Linked DNA regions of Homo sapiens: region 2 is linked to region 1. The links are contacts of gene promoters, found by promoter capture Hi-C in blood cells and fetal thymus (Javierre and others, 2016). All regions are on one chromosome and are shown on one strand. The core of a region is centred on a gene start or on the middle of the fragment in contact, and the rest is flanking DNA. Distances in the headings are between cores, read along the strand shown. Region 1 holds the start of SESN2 (sestrin 2). Region 2 overlaps TAF12 (TATA-box binding protein associated factor 12).

Region 1 (7,469 bases), core at 1,876-4,375:
AAGTGGTGAGATATATACACATGATATCAAGCATACACCAAGTTTGGAGATCAGTGGTAGAAAGAGATAAAAAGAATGTGTTGAAGATGTTGAGGACTGGGTGAGATTACTTTCAGCTGAGCTTTTTGGAGGAGGTGTCATTTAAAGTCTTGCTTCAGGCCACAAACAGGAATGAAGGCATTGAATGATGGATACTATTTCAATGGGTAGAGATTTGCAAGAAGAGTACTGAAAGAAAGATTTGAAGGCCAAACAAGAAACATGGATGTTGCAGGTGGTAAGAATGGGAGGGTAAATTAGGTGCATCTTGGCAAACCTTGAATGTTAAGATAGGAGTTTGATTTTTTTTTTTTTTTTTTTTGAGACAGGGTTTCGCTCTGACACCCAGATCGTGCAGTGGCACGATCTCAGCTCACTGCAACCTCTGCCTCCCGGGTTCAAGCGATTCTCCTGCCTCAGCTTTTCGAGTAGTTGGGACTACAGGCGTGCACCACCACGCTTGGCTAATTTTTGTATATTTAGTAGAGATGGGGTTTCACGATGTTGGCCAGGATGATCTTGAACTCCTGACCTCAGGTGATCTGCCTGCCTTTGCCTCCCAAAGTGCTGGGATCACAGGCGTGAGCCACCATGCCCACCCAAGGAGTTTGATCTTAATTCTGTAGCTGATGAAATACCAGTGAAGCCTTTTGATCTGGACTTTGACATTACATAGTAAATTTTTTTTTTTTTTTGAGACAGAATCTCACTCTGTCACCCAGGCTAGAGTGCAGTGGCACGATCTCGGCTCACTGCAAGCTCTGCCTCCTGGGTTCACGCCATTCTCCTGCCTCAGCCTCCCAAGTAGCTGGGACTACAGGCACCCGCCACCACGCCTGGCTAATTTTTTGTATTTTTAGTAGAGACGGGGTTTCACCATGTTAGCCAGGATGGTCTTGATCTGACCTCGTGATCCGCCCACCTCGGCCTCCCAAAGTGCTGGGATTACAGGCGTGAGCCACCACGCCTGGCCACATAGTAAATTTTTTAAATGAAAGCTGAAGCTGACACAGGGTAGTTTAGAGAGGAAGTTGATGCAAAGGAAGATTCCGTGACCAAGGGCATATGATTGTCAGGACATTTTGCTAGGTGACATAGAGCAGGAGATGGATGTCAAGATGTAGACCCTGCCAGCCAGGCGCGGTGGCTCATGCCTATAATGCCAGCACTTTGGGAGGCTGAGGCGGGCAGAGCACAAGGTCAGGAGTTCGAGACCAGCCTGATCAACATGGTGAAACCCTGTCTCCACTAAAAATACAAAAATTAGCCGGGTGTGGTGGCACTTGCCTGTAATCCCAGCTACTCAGGAGGCTGAGGCAGGAGAATTGCTTGAACCTGGGAGGCAGAGGTTGCAGTGAGCCAAGATCGGGCCACTGCACTCCAGCCTGGGAGACAGAGTGCGACTCTGTTTAAAAAAAAAAAAAAAAAAAAAAAAAAGATGTTGACCCTGCCCTCAAGGAGTTTACAATTAAAAAGATCAGATAAGCCAGACTCAGTGGTGCACACCTGTAACCCCAGTGATTGATTTGGGGGGCTGAGGAGGGAATATCGCTTGAGCCCAGGAATTTGAAGCTGCAGCGTGCTATGATCATGCCACTGTACTCCAGTCTGGGTGACAGAGCTAGACCCCATCTCTAAAAAACAATACTAATAAAAAGAAAAAAGGGTCAGATAAAACATGTACATAGAAAATTACAATACAAGGCAGAATGTGGCTGGACATGGTGGCTCATGCCTATAATCCTAGCACTTTGGGAGGCTGAGGTGAGAGAATCGCTTGAGCTCAGGAGTTTGAGACCAGCCTGGGCAACATATTGAGACCCTGTCTCTATTTACTAAAAAACAAAAAACAAAAACAAAAAAACAGAAAACAAAAAAACAAAAAACAAAAAAAACTAGGTAGAATGTGATACATGTGAAAAGAGATCCAGCTCAAGTGCCTTGGGAGCTCAGGGGAGGGTGAGATTAATCTCTTTTTCCCAAGAATCTGGAGGCAGGAAACCAAGTCGGTTTCATCTTTGGAATTGTAAGCTTAGACTTAGAAGTCTCAGAGGGGGACTTGGGGGTCTTATCCACCCTCACCCCTGGCAGGATTCCCTGTCTAGAATAAACAATAACTTTAAAATGGAAACAAAAAAAGGAGCTCTGAAGGAAAACTGTGAAGGAAGAGGCTCCGTTTGAAATGAATAGAAAATGAATTTAGCTTGGAGGTGCTGAGGTGTTGGTAGAGGCAACTTTCTGGCAAGAGGCGAGTTGAAGGCCAGGAAGTGAATGAGATCAGGGAGAGTGTCTGGAGGGAAGAGGGGCAAAAACAAACTGGGGAAGCACCCACGTTTTAGGAAGTGGGTGGTGAAAGAGGAGTCAGAGAAGGCCAGAGGGAGAGGTGAGCAAAGATCCAGCAGAACACCTTGTTACAAAGTTTCGAGGAGGGTGGGAGGGGTGGAAGCCAGGACGGGTAGCAGAAGGAAGAAAACTTCCAGCAATAGGGATTGAGGTTCCACACGAAGTTACCAATGACATTTCAAGGAATGAAGGCTTTTCCTGAGGCTCCACAAATAAGGTGAATTCCCTGTGTCTCGCATCTTTGGAGCTTCCCCGAGGCCAGGGGGAGCAGGGTTGTGCCCTCTGACCTCTAAATATCTGGGGTTCAGTTCTATAATTAGCAGCACCGGATAGGACGCGAGCCAAACCTCTCTTAACCCTAGCCAGTCCCTCCAGGAACTGAAAAGATGAAGAATTCATTTAGGAGATTTCACACTCGGCTGTTTGGCCTAGCCCAGTGAAGTCCCTTTTCATCACGCAACCCTAATGACTCTTAGGGCTGTCACTGCCGTCTGGTGTTGCCAGGGATCTGACTAAACCGTCTTGCAAAAGTTTGCAGCATTCACCCGAGGCGGACTACAACTCCCAGAATTCCGGGCGCTCCCCGGTGCTGATTGGCGGAGCCCGTGACTCCAGGGGGCGGAGTTTCCCCCGCCTCCCCGGGGAAACAGACCTCTGATTGGCTGGACCGCCGGGCTTTTGTGTCCCCGCCCTCCCCCGGGGACCGCAGCGGGCTGAACTGCTGGTGTCAGAGCCCGGCGAGCGCTGGCAGTTCCGCGGCGGGGATGCTGAGGAGCGCTGGGTCCGGGAGCAGCCCTGGCCCCTGCGGACTTCCGAGGCCGTGAAAACCCCTGCGCTGCGGCCCTTCCCAGGCCCCCGAGGCCGTTCGCCGTTCCCGAAGCCCGACTGGGGGAAGAGTCCAGCACCAAAGCGGCCGTTCTCGGATTCCGGAGCGTTCTGGAGCCCCGAGAGACGCCCCGGGGTTCTAGAAGCTCCCCGGCGGCGCCCAGTCCCGGCTTCATTCGGGCGTCCCTCCGAAACCCACTCGGGTGCACGGGTCGTCGGCGAGCCGCGACCGGGTCCTGGCGCGCACCATGATCGTGGCGGACTCCGAGTGCCGCGCAGAGCTCAAGGACTACCTGCGGTTCGCCCCGGGCGGCGTCGGCGACTCGGGCCCCGGAGAGGTAAGCGGCGGCCGCGCGACGCCCCTCTTCCCTGGAACCCCGAACCGCGTCTGAGCCTCAGGCTGTCCGGAGCTGAGTCGGTGTGTCCTGGGCTCGGGGAGGGAAAGCCGAGCGCGTAACCCGGGACCCGGGTTGCATCAACTGGCAGCCGCGGCCCTCGGCACCCCTCCCCCACTCTGTCTCCCCTCTCCCTCCTTCTCCCCCTCCCTCTCCCCCTCCTCCCTCCCTCTCCCCCTCTCCCTCACCGCCCCACCCCAGGGCCGCGGATCCTTCCTCGGCTCCCTCGGACTCCTGGCCAATGAGGGAGAAGCCTTCTGGAGGCTCTCCGAGCTTTGGGCTCCTGAGCGTCTTCAAGTCCAGGCAAATCCCGGCCGGAGCGGCCAGACCACTCCTCCTCCCCGCCCCCTTCCGCGGAGTCCCTTCCTCTTCGCGGGGGCCGGCGGGCAGAGGACCCTTCCTGGGGTGCCTCCCGGCTCCTGTCCCCCAGCGCGGGGCGTAGGCACCTGGGACTGGCCAGTGAAAGTCGACCTCATCCTATGTCCACCGCACTCCTGCTTTGGAGGGAGAGCGCAGGGGCTCTGGGGGCTTGGCGGGCCGCCCGGTACGCGGCGGCGGCAGCCAAAGCTGGGGGGAGAGGGGACAACCCTGGTCGCGGCTTCCGAAGCCAAGCGCGGGTTAGGCTGCGCCCTGCTAAGTAAGTGGTCTGAAGGCCCAGAAGTTTGTTTTCCAGAAATTCCTCCCCCACCCTCCCTTCGCGCCGCTCCCCTCCACCCCCCCGCATTCGCATCCCGGCATAGCCCGCAGGGGCTTTGCAGGGAGACCGGGAATTAGGCTGGACCTAACCAGACTGACAGTTCGCACTCCCCCACCACTACCAGCAGCAGCGATAATGGACATCTTATCATTTATTATGCACCTACTAGATACCAGGCTCTGAGTTTTTTTCGCCTTTAACCTAAGTCCTCAGGACTAAACCAGCAATACAAGCTACGCTATAGCCCCATTTTACAGGAAGAACATTGAGGCCCACGATGGGCTCAGAAAGAGGCTTTCTTCATTAACCCCACTGAATATCTTGTTCTTTGGCCTTATGATTTCGGAGATTGCACGGCACTAGGAGCTTCTAGTTGCTTTAGTTTACAGGCCTAGAGTGTGGTGGAAGTTGTATTCTGGACCTGGGATTTGGTGGAGTGCTATGACCCCAGGAAAATCCCTGCTTTTCTCTTAGTAACGTGGTTTCTGGGGATCCTACCTCCGTCGGTGTATAGTTTGTGCCCTGGTTTTTGTTAGCTTGCTTACCCTTCTCTGCCGTGATTTAGGAGCGCCATGTGGAGGAATGGCTCTTCTCCTGCAGCTTCTCAGCTGTGTGACTTCTTTGGAAAGATGGAAATAATGTTACTATTGAGAACACCTGAACACTAGAGAGCAAGAGTGCTGGGTTCATGTCCCAGCCCTCCTGCTAACTTGCAGTGTGTGGCTTAGCCAGTAATCACTTCTCTGATCTGTGGTTTCTTCCCATGGGGATTTTACAGTATCTCTAAGGGATTGTTGGGAGAATTAACTCAGAATACAAGCAAAAGCTGAAGCACTGTGACTGGAACATAGTAACTGCGTGATACTTGCTTGCTATTATCAGAACGTGGCCATGGCACGCACAGCTTTCTCCAGAGTGTCTCACAAGGGGGTGCCTGAGCCTGTTCCTGAGATCAGACACTGTACACCCCTCTCTGGGTCAGTGCCTGGTCTAGGGAGAAAAGGCTTTGAGGGAGGGATCTTTACACAGAAGCCATGTTTCCTCAGTGGAGAAAACTGCTGCTATCTGGGAGGTTTCTTTTTCTTATCTTTTTTTTTTTTTTTTTTTGAGATGGAGTCTTGCTCTGTTGCCCAGGCTGGAGTGCAGTGGCACGATCTCAGCTCACTGCAACCTCCATCTCCCAGGTTCAAGCAATTCTCCTGCCTCAGCCTCCCTAGTAGTTGGGATTACAGGCACCCGCCACCATGCCCAGCTAATTTTTGTATTTTCAGTAGAAACAGAGTTTCAGCATGTTGGCCAGGCTGATCTTGAACTCCTAACCTCAGGTGATCCACCTGCCTTGGCCTCCCAAAGTGCTGAGATTACCGGCATGAGCCACCGCACCTGGCCTATCTGGGAGATTTCTGTGTATTCCTCTCTCGAGAAAAGAGGACCTTCGGACGGTTTCTGCTTTGAGTGGTGGCATCCTTAGAAGACAGCAGGGTGCTGATCTTTGAGTCAGGTGCCCGAGGTCCAAGAGAAGACCCAGGCGTGCAGCTCCCTTAACTCCCTGTCACTTCACCACACACTCCCTTTCAGGAGCTCATTGCCTTCAGATGTGTGTATCTTCAGAAAGTTCCAAGGGCTTCACTCTAGTACTGGTAGTATTGGGCTCCCGAATAACTTTCTCGGCCAGATGCAGTGGCTCATGCCTGTAATACTAACACTTTGGGAGGCCGAGGCAGATGGATTGCTTGAGCCCAGGAGTTCAAAACCAGCCTGAAACCCTGTCTCTACAAAATATACAAAAGTTAGCCAGGCGTGGTGGTGTGCGCCAGCTACTTCGAAGGCTGAGGTGGGAGGATTGCTTGAGCCTGGGAGGCGGAGGTTGCAGTGAACTGTGATCATGCCACTGCACTCCAGCCTGGGTGACAGAGCAAGAGTCTGTCTCAAAAAAAAAAAAAAAAAAAAAACCAGGCTGGGCGCGGTGGCTCGCACCTGTAATCCAAGCACTTTGGGAGGCCGAGGTAGGTGGATCACAAGGTCAGGAGATTGAGACCATTCTGGCTAATACGGTGAAACCCCGTCTCTACTAAAAATACAAAAAATTAACCCTGCGTGGTGGCACACGCCTGTACTCCCAGCTACTCCGGAGGCTGAGGTAGGAGAATTGCTTGAACCTGGGAGGCAGAGGTTGCAGTGAGCCGAGATCGCTTCACTGTACTCCAGCCTGGGTGACAGAGTGAGACTCCGTCTCAAAAAAAACAAAACAAAACAAACTTTCTCAGACATCATTTCTTCTTCAGGGAAGCCCTTCCTCCCCCACTAGATAAGTCCCCTTGCACACCCTCCTCCATTCCCTCCATTGTAGGAGCTTTGGTCCCAATTATGTGAAATAGTCCCTTGCTGGAGATACCCTGCAAGTCTCATCCCCAGCACTGCTCTTTGCACCTAATAAGTGTTCGTGACTAGTTGCCCCTTGCTGGCTTAGCTGACCCTTGTGAACTATTCCAGCCGTGGAGTCAGATCTGAATTGTGCCCATTTGGAAGAGGACCTTTCTGAGCCTCTCTGACCTGTTTCCGAAGAAGGGATTATAAGAACTGTTTCCCTCTGGGTGGTTGGGAGGAATTGGCACAATCAGATGTGTAAAGCACTTAGCGTGGTTCCCAGCTCATGATGGGCAGACAAGTGTATGGCACCACTCACTCACACCCCCTCCACCCTGCCCACTCCAAGGCTGGAGGTCCTGGGCTGCTTGGGCTGTATTTCCGTATCGTCTTCTCAGGCATAAACCCAGGAAAATATCTGAATTCAGCTGGGGGTGAGGGAAGGAGAAATAGTGTCTGTTCCTTCCCAGCTGGCAGAGTGGGTAACCAGGTGTCTGTAGCTGAGACCAGGGACTTACAGGCTCTATAAAGGATAATATAGGGTAACCGAGAATAAAGTCTGGGGCTTCTCCAAGAAGCCGATATGGGTAGTAGACAGAACCCTTGGAAGCCAGACTGAGCTGGGTTCAACTCTCCAAGGCTGGGGCTGCTTCCCAAAGCTGTTATTATGAAGTGGAATGGACCTTAGAAGCCAGGCAGCCGTGGGTTCAGATCTCAGATTGGCTACTTGTCAGCTGGTGCCTAACCTTTGAACCCTTAGTCTTGTGTGCAAAATAGAGACTCTGCCGCCGCCCCAAAACAGA
Region 2 (7,469 bases), core at 1,282-3,781, 350 kb after region 1:
GGGTTTTTAGGCCGGGCGCGGTGGCTCACGCTTGTAATCTCAGCACTTTGGGAGTGCGAGACCTGTCTGACCAACACAGTGAAAACCCCATCTCCACTAAAAATACAAAAATTATCTCGGTGTGGCGGCAGGCGCCTGTAACCCCAGTTACTTGGGAATCTGAGGCAGGAGAATCGCTTAAACCTGGGAGGCTGAGGTGGCAGTGAGCCAAGATCACATCACTGCACTCTAGCCTGGGTGACAGAGCTAGACTCCGTCTCAAAAAAAAAAAAATTAAAAAAAAACAAAAAAAACCAAAAAGGGTTTTTAGGCATATAACATTGCCAAAACAAGGATGCCTCTTCAGTTGAGGGCCGTGAGAGAAGGTCACCCTACTCAATTCTTATGGCCGAGAAGCTGGACTCAAACTCCTGCTGATGTTATGGCCTCCCTTGGGGTAAAATGATGGAAAATCCCTGAGTTTTTCTCAAACACCAAAATGAATAACGATGCTGCCACCTGCTGACTAGAGAGCTACAATCCAGGCTTGCTTGTCCTGACTCCCTCTGGGATTTCAAAGGTACCCTGTCTTTCGATTAATAACTTCTTTATTCTGGAAAAGCAAATGAAAGTCATATTCATATAAACACTGACATTACAAAGTACAGGGAAAAGGGGAAGGGAGAAGGAAACAAAACCCTTTACAAATCCTGCTAATACTGTCTTACCCAAAAAGACCATAATGCTTTGTCCCATATTCAGTCACTTATATAATAAACCACAAATAAAATCTTCTCTGGAAGATACATTGCTCCTCTTTGAGATGGCAGGGAAAAGGGACCGGAAGTTGGGGTAGGAGGCTTTATTCTTTTGGCAGATCCTCTCAGTCATTATAGATATTGCTGCACTGTTAATAAAAAATATATGCTTCTCTGTAAAGCATTAAAAAAAAAAATCCAAGGATGAGATGGCTGAGTTCTCAGCTCAAGTATCTCCAAATACATTGCTGTCCATTCCCTGACCTTTCCGTGTGTTATTTCTTGGTTGTTTTCCGGATCAATGCCATTCTCTGAAAGGAGAGACAAATAAGCAGTTATACAGCAGCAGCTGGAGTCAGGAGCTTTCTGGAACATTCTGTGTGGCTAGCAGGCCTCATGGTCTACACTGTAGGCCGCAGCCCTCAGAGACCTGCAGTCACAAGGCATCTCAGTAGATTCCTTTTAACCAGAGAGCAGTCTGCAAGGCCCCAAGAGATGTTTAGATGGGCTAGTGGACCCATTTCATCCACCAAACTGCTCTAGGCTAGCAGAATGGCAAAAAAGTTAAAAGCAGGAGAAAGTGACAGCTCTTGAGTTTTGGTGACTTAGAGAATAAGCTGGCAAAGCATGTGTTTTCTTTCTTTCTTTTTTTTTTTTTTGAGATGGAATCTCGCTCTGTTGCCCAGGCTGGAGTGCAGTGGCATGATTTCGGCTCACTGCAACCTCTGCCTCCCAAGTTCAAGTGATTCTCCTGCCTCAGCCTCCCCAGTAGCTGGGATTACAGGCACGTGCCACCACGCCTGGCTAATTTTTGTATTTTTAGTAGAGACAGGGTTTCACTACATTGGCCGGGCTGGTGTCAAACTCCTAACCTCAAGTGATCCACCAGGCTCGGCCTCCCAAAGTGCTAGGATTACAGGCATGAGCCACTGCGCCTGGCCAAGCATGTGTTTTCTGGGGTCCCCTGACCCCAATCTTTTCTCCAATGATGGACACAATAGGGAAGGGGCCTCAATTTCAAAGTGTTGCCACACACAAAGGGAGCTGACATTTCACATCTCATGACCTGCATTGAAGGGAAACTGAAGACTAACAACTTCTACCACAGTCCATCATGGAAACACTCAGATCATAGGTTTCATGATCTGAATTCTTTTACTATTACTAGCTACTAGCCAAATTAACAACTTACTTTGTTCATTCTTTTTGACCAAATACCAATATTATGGCATTTGTCGACTAAATAAATAGGGCTGAAAATGGTTAACTTGGGAGCACAAAGTGACAGTCCATTGTTTGCAGGGACTCTCTTCTGAACAGTGCAATCTTTCCATTCAGGAAACTGGTGGCTTCCCTTTAGGGCTTGCTTCGTGAGCTTTACAAACACCGGCTCCAGAGATACCAGGCTATGGCGAAGCAGGGGCACTCAACCAGGACTGCCCAGTTGTGCCTGCTAAGCTTGGAAAAAGCTCACGTTTCAAATCAGAGTAGCCACTTAAGTTAAGACAGAAAGGATAACAGCCTTGTCAGAGGGAGGCCAACACTGCTGTTGGACTGACCAAAGATGGGGATGACTTGCTCCACAGCAGAAGTAGTATTCTCACACTGACTCCTAGGTTCCTTGTTCAGAGGGAACCTTGTTCAAAGGTAAAACCAGGACACAGGCCAGAATGTCCAGCACGGCAGCCTGGATACTACCTCTCAGAACAAGTACAGCACATTTTTGCTTTCTTTAACCTGCCCTCTCTTCATAGGACCATATATGGTGTTGCAATCAGCAACAATGAAGGAAGATTTCATTAAGGAGGTATGGTGGGGCGAGCTGCATCCATATTAGAAGAACCCAGAATCAACAGCTTTAAGTGACACTCAACAGAGTTACGAGAAAAAACAGACCACATGTGGGAACAGCACAGCACCATGTGAATATCTTATTGATCTCCCGGAGACCGCTGCTGCCTCTTGCCCTCTCTGACCCTTGCTCCAGAGAGTGAAGTTTGCTGTGTGGAGGAAGCGAGGCCCCCTAGAAGGTAGCTGTGTGTATCCACTCTGAGACGTAACTCAAGGAATCAGCCCTGGCTGTCCCCAGGGCTCTGGCATTTCCTCACCTGTTTGTGAGCTTCTGTGGTGCAAGCTTTTTTGTAGGGTCGGATTTCTTCAGAGCCAAATCCTGGGATCCACATGTTCCACTGGCGCTCTGCAAGGAAGAAGCCAGCACAGAGATAAACGTACCAAGAAGGCAGTACCAGGAGTGCAATGTGACCCCCTTGGATCAGGGAGGATGAATGTGGGCATCTGGCTACTAACTCCACAAAGGGATTCTATTACAAATAGGGAAAATGGACATGGCTTCTCCAAGGTTTTTTCTTTTTTTTTGGAGACAGGGTCTTCCCACTCTGTCACCCAGAGTGGGGTGCAGTGGCACAATCTTGGCTCACTACAGCCTTGACTACCCCAGCACAAGCGATATTCCCATCCTGGCCTCCCAAGTAGCTGGGACTACAGGCGCATGCCACCATGGCCAGCTAATATTTCTTATTTCTTATATTTCTTTAAGACGGAATTTTGCTCCTGTTGCCCAGGCTGGAGTGCAATGGCGCAATCTCGACTCACTGCAATCTCTCAGGCTTCAACATTGAATATGCCACAGGCTCATTTGCCAGGTTCAAGCAATTCTCCTGCCTCAGCCTCCTGAGTAGCTGGGATTACAGGTGTGTGCCACCATGCCTGGCTTTTTTATTTTTTATTTTTTGGAGATGGAGTCTCACTCTGTTGCCCAAGTTGGAGTGCAGTGGTGCGATCTCGGCTCACTGAAACCTCTGCCACCTGGGTTCAAGCGATTCTCCTGCCTCAGACTCCCGAGTAGCTGGGATTCCAGGCATCTGCCACTGCATCTGGCTAATTTTTGTATTTTTAGTAGAGATGGGGTTTCACCATCTCGGTCAGGCTGGTCTTGAACTCCTGACCTCGTGATCCACCCACCTCGAACTCCCAAAGTTCTAGGATTACAGGCGTGAGACATCGCACCTGGCCTCAGCTAATTTTTTGTATTTTTAGTAGAAACGGGGTTTCACCATGTTAGCCAGGCTGGTCTCAACCTCTTGACCTCAGGTGATCTGCCTGCCTCAGCCTCCCGAAGTGCTGGGATTACAGGCGTGAGCCACTGCGCCTGGCTGTATATTTCTATTTTTTGTAGAGAGGGGGTCTTGTTATGTTGAACTTTTGGGCTCAAGCACATCCTCCTGCCTCAGCCTCCCGAAGTGTTGGTATTACAGGCATCAGTCACCATGCCTGGCTTCCTCCAAGGTTTCTAAAGGACAAAATTCAAGCTTCTTGCAAAGAAAAAGAGGTAATTTAGTCAAAGCTGTGAATGCTGAGACCTAAGGTTTCCATGCAGCTTATCCAATTCACAGAAAATAAATATCATTTATTTCTTTAGTTGTCTTAATCCTAAGGCTCAAAGTAACCCCTCTCACACCTAAGGGACATGAAGGCACTTCAAGCATTCTGGAATTAAGAGCCAAAGCTGAGGTCTGCTGCTTCACTGAGCAGCTGTATGACGCTGGCTCCCAGTTTCTTCATTTTTTATGTAGCTGTAACAACAGTAATAACCACTGACAGGGTGGTTGGGGCATTCAATGACATAAGGCATGTGAAGTATTCAGCCCAGAGCCTAGGGTAAACATATAGGTATGGATATAGAGAGAAGTATGTCCACACCACAGTTCCATGACCTGGTGCCCCTGGATATTATCTTCCTTATAAGGTTATCACAAGAAGTTCCCAGAGGACAGGGACTTTGTTTATTCCTCTTTGACAGTAACTGGCATAGGGGCATGGCCCCCTAAACTCATGTATAAAGGTGTACGTCACTTTTAGCAAATCACAGGCATAAGCCACAACACCTGGCCCAATATTTCTTTGAAAACAGAATGTCTGAAACCTTCTGCTAACAATTTATGTTATTAGTATTTGAAAGTGACACTGGCCAGATGTGGTGGCTCATTCCTGTAATCTCAGCACTTTGGGAGGCCAAGACGGGAAGACTGCTTGAGCCCAGGAGTTCAAGACCAGTGTAGGCATAATAGTGAGACTGCATTGTTACTAGAAATAAAAATATTAGCTGGGCGGGAGTGGTGGGTCACGCCTGTAATCCCAGCACTTCGGGAGGCCAAAGTGGGCGGATCACCTGAAGTCAGGAGCTCAAGACCAGTCTGGCCAACATGGTGAAACCTGGTGTCTACTAAAAATATAAAAAATTAGTCAGGCATGGTGGCAGGTGCCTATAATCCCAGCTACTTGGGAGGCTGAGGCAGGAGAATCACTTGAACCTGGGAGGCAGAGGTTGCAGTGAGCTGAGACGGCACCACTGCACTCTAGCCTAGGTGACAGAGCGAGACTCCATCTCAAAAAGAAAACTTTTTTTTTTAGCTGTATGTGGTGGTGTGCACCTGTAGTCCCAACTACTTGGGAGTCTAAGGCAGGAGGATCACTTGAGCCCAGGAGGTAGAAGATGCAGTGAGCCATAATCACACCACTGCACTGCAGCCTGGGTGAAGAGGAAGATCCTGCCTCAAAAGAAAACAAAAAGGGCCAGGCACGATGATTCACACCTGTAATCCCACCACTTTGGGAGGCTGAGGCGGATGGATCACTTGAGGCCAAGAGTTCAAGATCAGCCTGGACAACATGGTGAAACCTCCTATCTACTAAAAATACAAAAATTAGCCAAGAGTGATGGTGAGTGCCTATAATCCCAGCTACAAGGCACAAGAATCCCTTGAACAGCCGGGCGTGATGGCTCATGCCTGTAATCCGAGCACTTTGGGAGACCAAGGCTGGTGGATCACAAAGTCAGGAGATCAAGACCATCCTGGCTAACACAGTGAAACCCGGTCTCTACTAAAAATACAAAAAAAAAAAAAAAAAAAAATAGCCGGGTGTGGTGGCGGGCGCCTGTAGTCCCAGCTACTCGGGAGGCTGAGGCAGGAGAATGGTGTGAACCTGGGAGGCAGAGCTTGCAGTGAGCCAAGATCGCGCCACTGCACTCCAGCGTGGGCGATAGAGCAAGGCTCCATCTCAAAAAAAAAAGGATCCCTTGAACTCAGGTGGTGGAGGTTGCAGACAAAGGTTATTCTCTACGAATTGAACTTTACAGTCAACAAAAAGTAGATAAAGTGTGCAAAGTCACTTTAAAGAAAGAGAGCAGGCCGGGTGTGGTGGCTCACGGCTGCAATCCCAGCACTTTGGGAGGCCAAGGTAGGCAGATTGCCTGAGCTCAGGAGTTGGAGACCAGCCTGGGCAACACAGTGAAAACCCGTCTCGACTAAAAATACAAAAAATTAGCCAGGCGTGGTGGCGTGTGCCTGTGGTCCCAGCTAATCGGGAGGCTGAAGCAGGAGAATCGCTTGAACCCGGGAGGCAGAGGTTGCAGTGAGCGGAGATTGTGCCACTGCACTCCAGTCTGGGCGACAGACTGAGACTCTGTCTCAAAGTAAATAAATAAATAAATAAAAGACAAAAAATTAGCCAGGCGTGGTGGGAGGGCGCCTACGTAATCCCAGTTACTCCGAAGGCTGAGGCAGGAGAATCACTTGAACCTGGAAGGCAGAGGTTGCAGTGAGCCGAGGTCACACCCTTGCATTCCAGCCTGGGCAAAAAGAGTGAAATTCCGTCTCAAAAATAAATAAAGAAAGAAATAATAAAGACAGTAGCTACCACACATGAATACATACATGTATGTGTGTCTATTTATGTAACTACGTATACCTATATGCGTTATGTGTGTATACATATATCTTATATAATCTTTTTTATTTATTTATTTTTTGAGACTGAGTTTTGCTCTTGTTGCCCAGGCTGGAGTGCAATGGTGTGATCTCGGCTCACTGCAACCTCCGCCTCCTAGGTTCAAGCGATTCTCCTGCCTCAGCCTCCCGAGTAGCTGGGATTACAGGCACATGCCACCACGCCCGGCTAATTTTGTATTTTTAGTAGAGGCAGGGTTTCTCCACGTTGGTCAGGCTGGTCTCGAACTCCTGACCTCAAGGGAAATGCCCGCCTCGGCCTCCCAAAGTGCTGGGATTACAGGCGTGAGCCACCATGCCCGGCCTATATAATCTTAATATAATAGCAACAACAATCATTTAGTGAATGAAATGTAGTAAATGCATGGTCAAAGCAACATTGTGCAAAGCATTCTATGTAAATTATCTCATTTAACTTTAACTTTTTTTTTTCTGAGATGGGCTACTGCTCTGTCGCCCAGGCTGGAGTGCAGTGGTGTGATCTTGGCTCACTGCAACCTCTGCCTCCTGGATTCAAGCGATTTTCGTGCCTCAGCCTCTGGAGTAGCTGGGACTACAGGCGTGCACCACCACGCTCAGCTAATTTTTGTATTTTTGGTAGAGATGGGGTTTCACCGTGTTGGCCAGGCTGGTCTCGAACACCTGACCTCAGGTGACCCGCCCACCTTGGCCTCCCAAAGTGCTGGGATTACAGGCGTGAGCCACCGTGTCTGGCCCCAATTCACATTTGTTATGCAACCATCAGCATCATCCATCTCCAGAACTCCCAAATTGAGGATATCCATCTTCCCAAACTGAAACTCTATATCCATTAAACAACTCCCTGTACCCCCTTCCCCTTAGCCCCTGGTAATCACCATTCTACTTATTCTACTTTCTGTCTCTATGAATTTGTGTTGTGGGGGATTATTTTTTTTTTCTTTTT

The links. The method cuts DNA at HindIII sites, captures the fragments that hold promoters and counts their contacts. A CHiCAGO score of 5 or more calls a contact.
Region 2: a fragment that was not itself captured here is called in contact with the fragment with the promoter of SESN2 in region 1 in 1 of 17 cell types (endothelial precursors); the score reaches 5.6 in endothelial precursors.

Annotation. Positions count from the first base shown.
Region 1 is chr1:28,256,393-28,263,861 of GRCh38, forward strand. SESN2 (sestrin 2) reads left to right here and starts at 3,126. Exons shown (of 10, transcript NM_031459.5): 1 at 3,126-3,545. The coding sequence starts at 3,456. RefSeq lists enhancers at 2,697-2,876, 2,869-3,717 and silencers at 2,987-3,196, 3,977-4,036. The HindIII fragment of the contact is 7,816 bases long and covers 2,069-7,469 here.
Region 2 is chr1:28,602,527-28,609,995 of GRCh38, forward strand. It overlaps TAF12 (TATA-box binding protein associated factor 12), which reads right to left. Exons shown (of 6, transcript NM_005644.4): 5 at 2,846-2,934; 6 at 324-1,048. The coding sequence ends at 1,013. Among named protein-coding and RNA genes, the nearest start is that of RAB42, 14 kb to the left of the region's middle. RefSeq lists an enhancer at 1-413. The HindIII fragment of the contact is 676 bases long and covers 2,194-2,869 here.